3 separate regions of the Homo sapiens genome follow, and regions 2 and 3 are each linked to region 1. Evidence: promoter capture Hi-C in human tissues and cell types (Jung and others, 2019). All regions are on one chromosome and are shown on one strand. Each heading gives the region's core, a stretch centred on a gene start or on the middle of the fragment in contact. The rest is flanking DNA. Distances are from core to core; before and after follow the strand shown. Region 1 holds the start of LY86 (lymphocyte antigen 86). Region 2 has its middle 81 kb from the start of MIR5683. Region 3 overlaps F13A1 (coagulation factor XIII A chain).

Region 1 (3,537 bases), core at 620-3,119:
GGTGAGAAATAAATGCTTGTCATTTAAGCCACCCAGTCTAAGGTATTTGTTATGGCAGCCAGAACATACTAAGACCATTTCCCTGCCACAGCTGCCCACAGCTCTCTGCTAGGTTTTCTGCTCCCTGCCCTGCACTCCTGGACTCCTCCTCCAGTGTCAATCATGACGCACTTTGCAGGGAAGGAAGTTCTCACCCTCAATTGCTCTCCTCACTCACATATGTTCAGAGCTCTCTTTACAACTGCTGGAGCACTCACATATCCCAAGGGAAAGCTTCTGTGTTCCATCCTGGACCTTCTAGGGGCTACCACGCTTCCACCAGGGCCGCTGCTCTCACCATAAGCTTCAGACTCTCATCTCCCGAGATCTTGCTCACAGCGCAGCTGCCTTCCGCTCACACAGGCCAGAGGGGCCACCTTGTCTCTTCTTAGAGCAACTTCCCACCACTCCCTTGGGGCTCAACCTTCGCTTTATGTTCTGTAAAAGCCAGCAGTTCTCAAACTTGAGACTGCATCAGGCACACCTGGAGGGCTTGTGAAAATCCAGAATGGTGAGTCCCGCCCCCCAGAGTTTCTGATTTAATAGGTCTTGAGTAGCCCAGAATTTGCATCTCTAACAAGCCCCCAGTGGAAGCTGAGGCTGTCATCTTCCCAGGCCGCACTTTGAGAACTGCTGTTGAAAGCCATCATCACTGAACTTATTTGCAGAGGTACCTAAAAATAATCAATCCACAACTGTTCCTTCTCCAAATGACCACTCTCTGATGTCTATCAAGAAATCCAAATTATTTACCAATTAATTTATTGGTAATTATGTTCCACCTATTTCAAAAAAAGTTTTGAGCTAACTCTAATTTTTGCTTAGCCATCAGCAGAAATAGTAAATTTACCTAGTGCATTCAGAAAAATGCTGTTCCTCCCAGGGAAAATAGTGTTTTCTATTGCTCCTGAAATCTGCTGACCTTGGCACTGACTCTGGTCCTCTTACATTAAGGTGAAGCTGGGGCGGGGTTGAGGAATCAAGACTGAGAAACCTTGCTGTCCTGCAGCAGAATAGAGATACATGGAAGAAGGAAGACAGAATCTTGGCTTTGAAGAGAAAGTGAGATGTGATGTCAATGATCCCACTAACACCAAAACCAGCAAACCAGCCTCCTTAAGGGTGGCCCCACCTCCCCACCCTTCCTACTTTTTCTACCAAGCCAAACCCAGAAATAGAACACGGCTCACTTCTCAGGGCTATTGCCTCTGCCTCATCTCCAGAGACCACATCTGCAGCTCCCAAAACAAGGTCTGTTCTGCAGCTGGACAATTCACTGCTAAAATCCCAAACCTAAGAGCAGAGCCAAAGCCAGAGGAGAGGAAAGTGACAATAGGGCCAAAGCCTCATTCCAGATTCCAAATGTCATTCTGTAGCCCTCGTGCTATCAACTGCTGCCTGCTGGCTGCAGCCAGGTCCCTGGGTCCATACACAGCCTGCATCAAGAGCCTGCAGAGACTCGGGGGCTGGAGATGGGAAACAGATGGTGGCCTGCGCTTTGTCTTTCCCAAGTTTACAGCCTCACCTGGGGGTGGAGGCTGTTCTGAGGGGCCCCCAAGAGGTAAGTTCACGCATCACTACTGACCCTCTCCCTGTGAAAGCAGAAAGTCAGCACGCATCCTACCCCAGACCAGACCAGCCACACCTGTAGATTCAAGGTCCTGGGGGAACAGTATTCAAATGCCTCTGCTCTCAGCCTTTTACTTCTGACTGTGGTTCCCAGCGAGTCTAAAATTTGAGAAGTGAAACTGAACATCCAACTGCCTTGGTGAGGGGAGAGGAAGAAATTTTACAGGCTTTTTATTGGCCGGTTATTTTTCTGTGTGTCCCATACAGGCCCCCACCATGAAGGGTTTCACAGCCACTCTCTTCCTCTGGACTCTGATTTTTCCCAGCTGCAGTGGAGGCGGCGGTGGGAAAGCCTGGCCCACACACGTGGTCTGTAGCGACAGCGGCTTGGAAGTGCTCTACCAGAGTTGCGGTAAGCCCTTGCAGTACACCCATGTGTGTTTATGGGGAAAGCAAGGCCCACAGATGTGAGCCGCTAGTGCTCAGTTGGAGTTGGGGTGGGAGGGGAGAGGGGACCAGCAGCTGAACACTTTCTCCACCTGCAGCAGGTCTGGGAGGGCCACTGGGAGCTTTTGGAAGAAGGAGCGGTGGGGCCAGGACTGGGAGCGGAAGAGAATGGCAGAACAACAAAGAGTACAAGAAAGAGAAATTGAATCTAAATATAGCCATTTACTAACACCACAGAACCCAAAAAAGAACAAAATGATCAGTGAGTCTACCAAATCATCAAACCTCACCAGCTGAAAATTAGGAAAAGCAGCTTCCAGTAGGCCCTTCCTCAACACCGTACACCTGGGCTACCTTTCCATCTGATGTACTTTGCAAGTGAAGTGAAAAGATCACTTCTGCCCAAAGAGAAGATTCCTGTCCCTCTCTGGACACTTTCAGAGCTTTCACTGCAGCAGTAGCTCTCATGAATTCAGCAAGCACTTCGCATGCAGCTATCAATGCCAGGGTTTCTCAGTGCTAGAGATAATAAAAGTGCATATGCCAGGCCTGTCACCCCAGCGGGCCAACCCAATACGCCAACAGATAATTGCAATTCAGTGAAGAGAATGCAGTGAACTGTGGTAAGAAGTGTCAGAACCAACCAATCGGGCTGTGTCTTAGTCAGCTAGGGCTGCCATAACAAACCACCACAGGCTGGGGACTTAAATAACAGATTTATTTCCTCACAGCTCTGGAAGCTGGGCTGGTTTCTCCTGAGACCTCTCTTCTTTGCTTCTAGGTGGCATCTTCTCCCTGTCTCCTCATGTGCTCTTCCCTCTGTGTACATCTGTGTCCTCATCTCCTCTTCTTATAAGTACACAATCATATCAGATTAGGGCCCACCTCCATGGCCTCACTTTAGCTTAATCAGCTCTTTAAAGACCCTATCTCCAGCAGGGCATGATGGCTCACACCTGTAATCCCAGCACTTTGGGAGGCTGAGGAGGGTGAACCACTTGAGGTCAAGCATTCAAGACCAGCCTGACCAACATGGAAAAACCCTGTTTCTACTAAAAATATAAAATTAGCTGGGCATGGTGGCACGCGCCTGTAATCCCAGCTACTTGGGAGGCTGAGGCAGAATTGCTTGAACCCAGGAGGTGGAGGTTGCAGTGAGCCAAGATCGTGCCATTGTACTCCAGCCTGGGCAAGAGGAGCGAAACTCTGTCTTAAAAAAAAAAAAAAAAAAAAAAAAGACCCTATCTCCACATACAGTCACATTCTAAGATACCGTAGTCCCCCCCCAGTCTGCTAGGAATACGTTCCAAGACTCCCAGTGGATGCCTGAAATCATAGATCGTTTTGAACCCTACATATACTATGGTTTTTGGACCCAATAAATGAGACAGCTACTAAGTGACGGACAGGCCGGTAGTAGAGACAACATGGATATTCTAGACAATTCGTGTTCCTGGTGGGCTGGGCAGCACGAGATTTCAT
Region 2 (3,537 bases), core at 688-3,187, 500 kb before region 1:
ATATTTATTTTGTACTACTTATAGGCAAATGCAGTCTGGAGAGAGGAGAAAGCCTCAAAGTCAAGAAAAGTCCTGCAGAAGGACAGTACCTTGCAAATCTAGTGTGGGTGACAGAATGCTGGCTTTCCTTCACAGTCAGGGCCTCTGCATATGTTTTGATTGGACTCAATTCAGGCCATGTTTACTAAGCCCCTGCCATGAGTAAGCTATCATGGCACACTGTGAGTGGGGCAATGAGATGGGGGTACAGTGAGGAAAAAGTAATAGTCTTTGCCCTCTGGTGCTCAGAGGTTGTGATGGTTAATTTATGTGTCAGCTTGGCTGGCTATGGTACCCAGATATTTATTTAAACATTATGAATGTTTCTGTGAAAATATGTTTTTGGATGAGATTAACATTTAAATTAGTAGACTCAGTAAAGCACGTTGCCTTCTATATTGCGGGTGGGCCTCATCCCATCAGTTGAAGTCCTGGATAGGACAAAAGATTGCCCTCCCAGGAAGAAGAGGGGATTCTGTCAGTAGATAGCTTTCAAACTGGAATGGCAACCTTGGCTCTTCCCTGGGTCTTCAGCCCACCTGCCCACTCTGCAGATTTTAAACTTCCCAGCTTCCATAATCATGGGAACCAATTCCTTAAAATAAATCTCTTTCTCTATATATACACACATATACATCCCATTGGTTCTGTTTCTCTGGAGAATACTGACTAATACAGAGGTCAAGACGCAGACTTAAATACACCAATCAGATTGCATCCTCAGATGGATTAGTGTAGGAAGGTCCTGTGAGACTTGTCGAGAAGAGCCAGGAAATGTGGGTAAAGTGCCTACTCATGATGTGAAGGAAGTGAACTCAACCTGGGCAAAATGCAGAATCTCTTCTCTTCAGGGAATAAGAGAGTCTAGTTGGGGGTAGGAAGTGGGAGAGGAAAGTGCAAATGGAATTGGGTCACATCAGTATGCAAACAGACCAATGAATACTTTGAAAAATGGAGAGAAGTTGACTCATCAAGTGAAAGCACCTAAAATATATATCAGTTTTTCTTCTTTTCCATGAAACAATGCTTTTTTCCAGAGAAACAAACCTAACATCGTGGAGGATGTTAAAGACCTTAGATTTTATTCTGTGTGTAATAAGTGTGGAGAGAAGAAAGAGAGGGAGAAGGGTTTTCTGTTTATGAGGAACACTCTGGTAGTGAGCATTTGGTGGGATTTGTACTAACTTTCAGAAGGGGACAGTTGAAGTGGAACTGAGACTGTGGGTAACAGACATGATCTAGTGACCTAAGAAAGCAGGAGAGTAGAAGGTAGGCAGACCGGGTCATGGAGGACCGTCTTCATAAGGAAGAGGAGAGACCCAGGAATATTCAAAGCAGAGAGAAAAGTGTGACAGAAAGGGAGGCAAATAGGTGACAGGAAAGGTTTGCAAGAGGTGCAAGGGAGTTTGCTGTTTCAGGGTTCAGGGACCATTGCATCATTTGCACTTGTCGGCAAAGTCACTGTTAAGATGTCACAGTTTCTCTTGGAAAAGGAGTTCATCCTGGGTTGTTTTTCTGGAATAGAATGGATTTGCTCAGATCTAACTGCAGCAATGTCTATCCAGTGTTATAAAAAATATGCATTTATGTGTCTGTGTGTGTGTGTGTCTGTGTCCCCAGAAGAGTCATCAGGCAGCATGGGATAAAAATTTTGACCCTAAAATTCTTCCATAGCAGCTTCTCTCACAAACCATGGACAGAAAGAGCCAGAACGTTCTGGTGTATTTCCTGGCACACAACAGGTATTTACTAAATATCTAGTGAATAAGAGGATGTGAGTGAATGGATCTCAGAGTGAGTCAGAAGACTCAGAAGTTACACTGAGTATGTTTTCGAATGCTGAGAGCTAAATGCACACACCTTTGTATACACACACACACACACACACACACAGAGCACCTACCATTTTAAATGCCTAGCATGGCACAACCACTAAGCCTTTGCCACCAGGGAAATGGCTCTGATTCGAGAGAGAGAGAGAGACAGAAAAAAAAAGAGAGCGAGAGAGAGACTGGGGAAGTGTTTCAAGTTCATAGAAAGAATGAGGTTTATTCTTGCCCTACACTGAAGGGTCTCAATCTTGGCTACAGATTGGAATCATCTGAGGAGCTTTAAAAAATTACTTATGCCTAAGTTCTGACTTCTTTGGAATGGTGTATGGGTTGAGAGTCAGGATTTTAAAAAGCTCCTCCTGAGAGGATTCCAATGTACAGCCCAAGTTGAGAACCCTTGCTTTAAATCTCTGCTATCCATTTTGGTAGCTACTGGCCACATGTGGCTATTGAGTCCTTCAAATGTGACTGTCCTTGAAATTGGGATGTGCTGTAAGTGCAAAATACACACAGAATTTTGAAGAATTTGAAGTGAGAAGAACAAAAAATAATAATATTTTATTAATAATTTTTATATTGACTGTAGAAGGCAGAATAAGACCCCTCTCCCTGTGATGTGCATGTCCTAATCCCCAGAACGTGTGACTACGTTTTATTATGTGGCAAAAGAGAATGCAGGTTGCAGGTGGAATTAAGGTTGCTAATCAGTTGACCTCAAATAAGATCATCTTGGATTATCTGGGTGGGCCCGATGTCATCAAAAGTTCTTAAATGTGGAAGAGGGAGGCAGAGGAGTCAGCATCGAAGTGATGTGATCTAAGAAAGACTCCACCAGCTATTACTGGCTTTGAATACAAGCAAAGGAAAGTGGGCAGCCTCTGTAGGCTGGAAAAGGCAAGAAAACAAGTTCTCCTCTAGAGTCTCCAGAAAAGAACATGGCCCCATCAATGCCTTGATTTTAGCTCAATGAGACCCATTTTGGACTCCAGATAATACATTTATCTGGTTTTAATTCACTAAGTGTGTGGTCATTTAAGATATATTAAGAGCATGATTTTTATCAGTTTCTTTTTACTTGTTTTTAATGTGGCTACTAGAGTATTCCAAATCACATGTGGCTTGCATTACGTTTCTATTAGATAAGGCTGTTTTTAGACCCTGCCGTCCTCTGGACAATTACTTTAGGGACTTCCAGTGCACGCTTCTGACACTAGTCAAAGTGGGAAGAACAGCAACCTCTATAGGAATGTCTGGCCTAACTGAAAATAGTTTACATTCTCATCTCCTGCTAGCTTGCTGGTAATAAGGATAGAAATTGTATCTCATGCCTGATTGTCAAATGAATAAATGGCCAGGGATTTTTTTGAATGAAAGCTTTACAGATTTGTAGAAACTATAAAACTGGCCCAACCAAATAAATTGTTAGAGTTTTTGAAAGAAGTGGACATGAATTAGTATGTCCATTCAACATTGAAACGTAAGTCTTGGAGTTCTCTCAACAACAGTGCAACCACAACACTAAGGTAGTGTGGACCAAGACCACCATGTGCCTTTGGTGATAAGTTTCCTTTTTCTAATGAGTGCCTTTTTGGTTACAAGTAGTACATTTCATGTTTGAAGGGATAAGGTAGTTCCTTTTGCTTTTAGCGAATCTATAAGAGGAAAA
Region 3 (3,537 bases), core at 621-3,120, 350 kb before region 1:
ATTTGCCAAGTTATGTTGTAAGGATAGGAAGGGAGATGAGCTGAAGGTCAAGTACTCAGGTTATTCCATGGGCAGGCATCCCAGAAAATGCACAAGAAAAAAGAAATAGGGTAGCAGCAATTCTATTTCTTCCCTTGCCTGGCTCTTCATCCTTGATTTTCTTCTGGGCTTTTATGGCACTTACAACAGCCAGGGTCACATACTTGGTCGAAAGGAAAGGAAAATCATCTACCATGTCTTTGGTTTTTCATAGTGGTTTGCTTAATAACAAGCTGTTTTCTGCCTTGTTGTTGCTGGAAATGTTATTCTCGCTCCCTGGAATGTCCATCCACACTCAAACCTCTTCTTTACCTGGTGCCCTATTGATCCTTTAAAACTCAGCTGGTTTCACCCTGGGAATCTTTACTTATCACCTTGATTTGGATGTCCTTACTCTTTGATCACATAGTACTCTTTGCATAGTACTATCCATTTATCACATTGTATTGTGTCATTGGTTAGACTGTCCTTGTTCTTTTCCCAGACTTTATGTTCACAGAAGGAAGGAAGGCACTATGCTGTTTTGACTTTATATTCCCAGGGCTAGCACAGAGTGGGAACTCAATAAGTTCTGTTGAATGAATGGATGTGCTATCACTGGAAGATGGCTATAGGCTACATTTTAATACTTCTTTAATAGATCAAGACAACGGGACAGTTAGAATGCCAATAGGCACTTCATTAAAGCTGGAAAGTTGTTTCCAAAATTTACATAGCAATACAAAGGATCTAGAATAATTAAACATAATATTGAAAAAGAAGAACAAAAATGAATGACTACCTGATTTGAAGGTTTACTAGAGGAAAGCAGTAAAAAAGGCAGTGTGGTATTGTCATAAGGACATACATATAAACTAATGAAACAGAAAAGAGAGTCTAGAAATAGATCCATACTCATGTAGACATTTGATTTCTGACAAAGTCACCAAAGCAATTCAATGAAGAAAATGACAGTCTTTTCAACAAAGAAACTCTTTGCAACGAATGAAAGCCTTTCCAACAGTCTTTTCAACAAATGCTGGTGGAACAAATGGATAAATTTGGAAAAAATAAGATTTGATCCCTACCTCACACAACACCAAAAGGTAACTCAAGATGGATCATAGACCACAATGTAAAAGTTCAAATTATAAAGCTTCAAAAATAAAACATAGGAGAAATAGTGGCAAACATGGGCAAATAGTGATTCATGTGAAAGTCTTCATGTGGAAAGAACATTTACTGGGGATGACTATTAAAGAACAATGAAAAAATTTGATTTTATAAAATTTAAAAACTTTTGTTACTTAAAATATGCCATTTATAAAATATAACTACAAGCCATAGTTTGGGGAAAATATGTTCTATACATATCTGACAAATGAGAGGTATATACACAGAGCAACTATAACTTAATAATAAAAGTACAAATGACTGAATAAGAAAATCAGTAGACTTGAAAACATGCTGCATATATATATATATATATAGCCAATAAATGTATTAAAAGATGCTCAAAATCATTAGCCATCAGGGAAATGAAAATTAAAACTACAATGAAATGCCACTATATACCCATTTGATTGGTTAAAATTAAAAAGGTTCAAGACATCAAGAATAGGTGAAGCTGTGGAGAAACTGGAACTCTCATATGTTGCTGGCAGGAATGTAAAACAGTAGAGCTGCTTTGGAAAACTAGCCAATTCTTATAAAGTTAAATATATACATACTTTCTGATCTAGGCATGCTCTCTTTAGCTATTTACTCCAGATATATGAAAACACATACACAAAAACACTTGTACAAGAATGTTTATAGTAACTGTATTCATAATAGCTTCACATTGGAAACATCTTAAACATGCATCAATAGGTGAATGGATAGACAAATTGTGATATACAATGCAATAAAATACTTCTTAGTAATGGTAAGGAAAGCATTGAAAACACATGTAACAGTTGATGGAGTAAGAGAAGCCAGCCCTATTTCTACTGTGTGAATCCATTTATGTAAAGTTGAAGAATAGACAAATGTAACCCATTGCAAGAAATCAGAATAGTAGCTACCTAATGAGGTGGGGATTGACCGGAAGAAGCACGAGGGAAACTTCTGAGCTTGTGGAAATGTCTATATTTTGATTGGGGTGGTGATTACCCCAATCAAAAGTCATTGAATTGTGCATTTAATATCCATGATTTTTTACTGTATGTAAATTTTACTTCAATTAAAAAAAATCCTGTAACTAACTGTAATGAATAGTATGAAGCATATAACTACCGATATATGAATGTCCTTTGGTATATATATGACCCAAGCTCTGATAGGGGTGGGTAATTAGACTCATTTTTCATGATAACTATGACCACAGGAAATTATTAACCTTGTCTCTCTCAGTATCTGAGGATGCTCATTTGGCCAAAACATATTTTACTAATTGACAATAATGAGAGAAATAAGCAAATGTGGACTGAGAGAGAAAACTGAGATTTCAAGGTCTCCAAGTGTGGCCTGCTGTTTTCATTGCCATACCACTGCTGCATGGTGTAGAGCTGGTATAGAACAGGCCTCAAAAATATCTGAATTAAAGGAATGGACGTATGAGAGAGGGAAAAATGCAGAGCAGGAGGAGGAAAAAGGGAAGGATGTAACAGGAGGAGACAGGGGAAAGAAAGAGGGTATGAAGGGAACCCAAGGTGCATGAAGCTGTGCATATCCTAAAGGGCTGAGCTGGCTTTGCTTTGCTCCTTTGCTATCCATCTATCCTGGGGATGCTGGCCCCAGGAGACCAGAGCAGCACCAACCGCTCAGCTTGGAGGGAGTGCTGTAAAGCATCCCTGTGCTTCAGAAATAGCCTGTGTGATTACAGAATAGCTGCAGCATTGAAACCTCATTCCAGGAAGCAATTCAGGGAAAGCAGACATTTAGATTGCCCATGATTATCACATTCGAGAGATGCCTTGTAATAAATGTCTGTTTTTCTCCAAAAATATGGGGTGAAGAGGCATAAGAAATGTAAGCTTAATAATTGAGAAACCAAGCTGTTTGACCACAAATGGAAACTTCATTACACTGCTGGCTTTTACCATAAGAGAAAAAAGATAATGTCTGAGCAGTTCATCGTCCCCCCACTGCCCCCACCTGAAAGAGAAGGATTGAATCAGACAGGACATGTAAAAGGCATTATATCTGTATCCAAGGAGCTCATGTGACCGGGAGAGAGGACAGACAGAGGACAAATCCAGGGGAAATAGAACATTGTGTGTGAATTAGTGGGGCCAGGCAACTCATGACCCACCCCCAGTGCTACCAGCAACCTTGGATAAAGTTACTTAACTTCCTGATGCCTCAGTCTCTCCACCTGCACTTTGGTTATTTATGGAATGGATTTATGCAATTTCTCAAAAGTGGCTATGAAGATACTTTCTGTTAGATAAATTCTATTTTCCCACTGGCTTCCAATATATCTGTCAATTTTTTAAAAATCTTCAATGAACAGAAATGAAAATCCCTGGTGAATAA

What was found. The method cuts DNA at HindIII sites, captures the fragments that hold promoters and counts their contacts. A contact is called where the count stands out against the background at its distance.
Region 2: a contact is called between a fragment that was not itself captured here and the fragment with the promoter of LY86 in region 1, in 2 of the 25 tissues and cell types used here (lymphoblastoid cells and thymus).
Region 3: a fragment that was not itself captured here is called in contact with the fragment with the promoter of LY86 in region 1 in 1 of the 25 tissues and cell types used here (aorta).

The regions. Positions count from the first base shown.
Region 1 is chr6:6,586,851-6,590,387 of GRCh38, forward strand. LY86 (lymphocyte antigen 86) reads left to right here and starts at 1,870. Exons shown (of 5, transcript NM_004271.4): 1 at 1,870-2,020. The coding sequence starts at 1,885. All of the region lies in intron 1 of LY86-AS1 (LY86 antisense RNA 1), which reads right to left. RefSeq lists enhancers at 167-256, 267-396. The HindIII fragment of the contact is 16,234 bases long and covers 1-3,537 here.
Region 2 is chr6:6,086,876-6,090,412 of GRCh38, forward strand. No RefSeq gene overlaps it. Among named protein-coding and RNA genes, the nearest start is that of MIR5683, 81 kb to the right of the region's middle. The HindIII fragment of the contact is 5,129 bases long and covers 1-3,537 here.
Region 3 is chr6:6,237,227-6,240,763 of GRCh38, forward strand. The region is part of intron 6 of F13A1 (coagulation factor XIII A chain); the gene reads right to left. Among named protein-coding and RNA genes, the nearest start is that of MIR7853, 70 kb to the left of the region's middle. The HindIII fragment of the contact is 3,988 bases long and covers 1-3,537 here.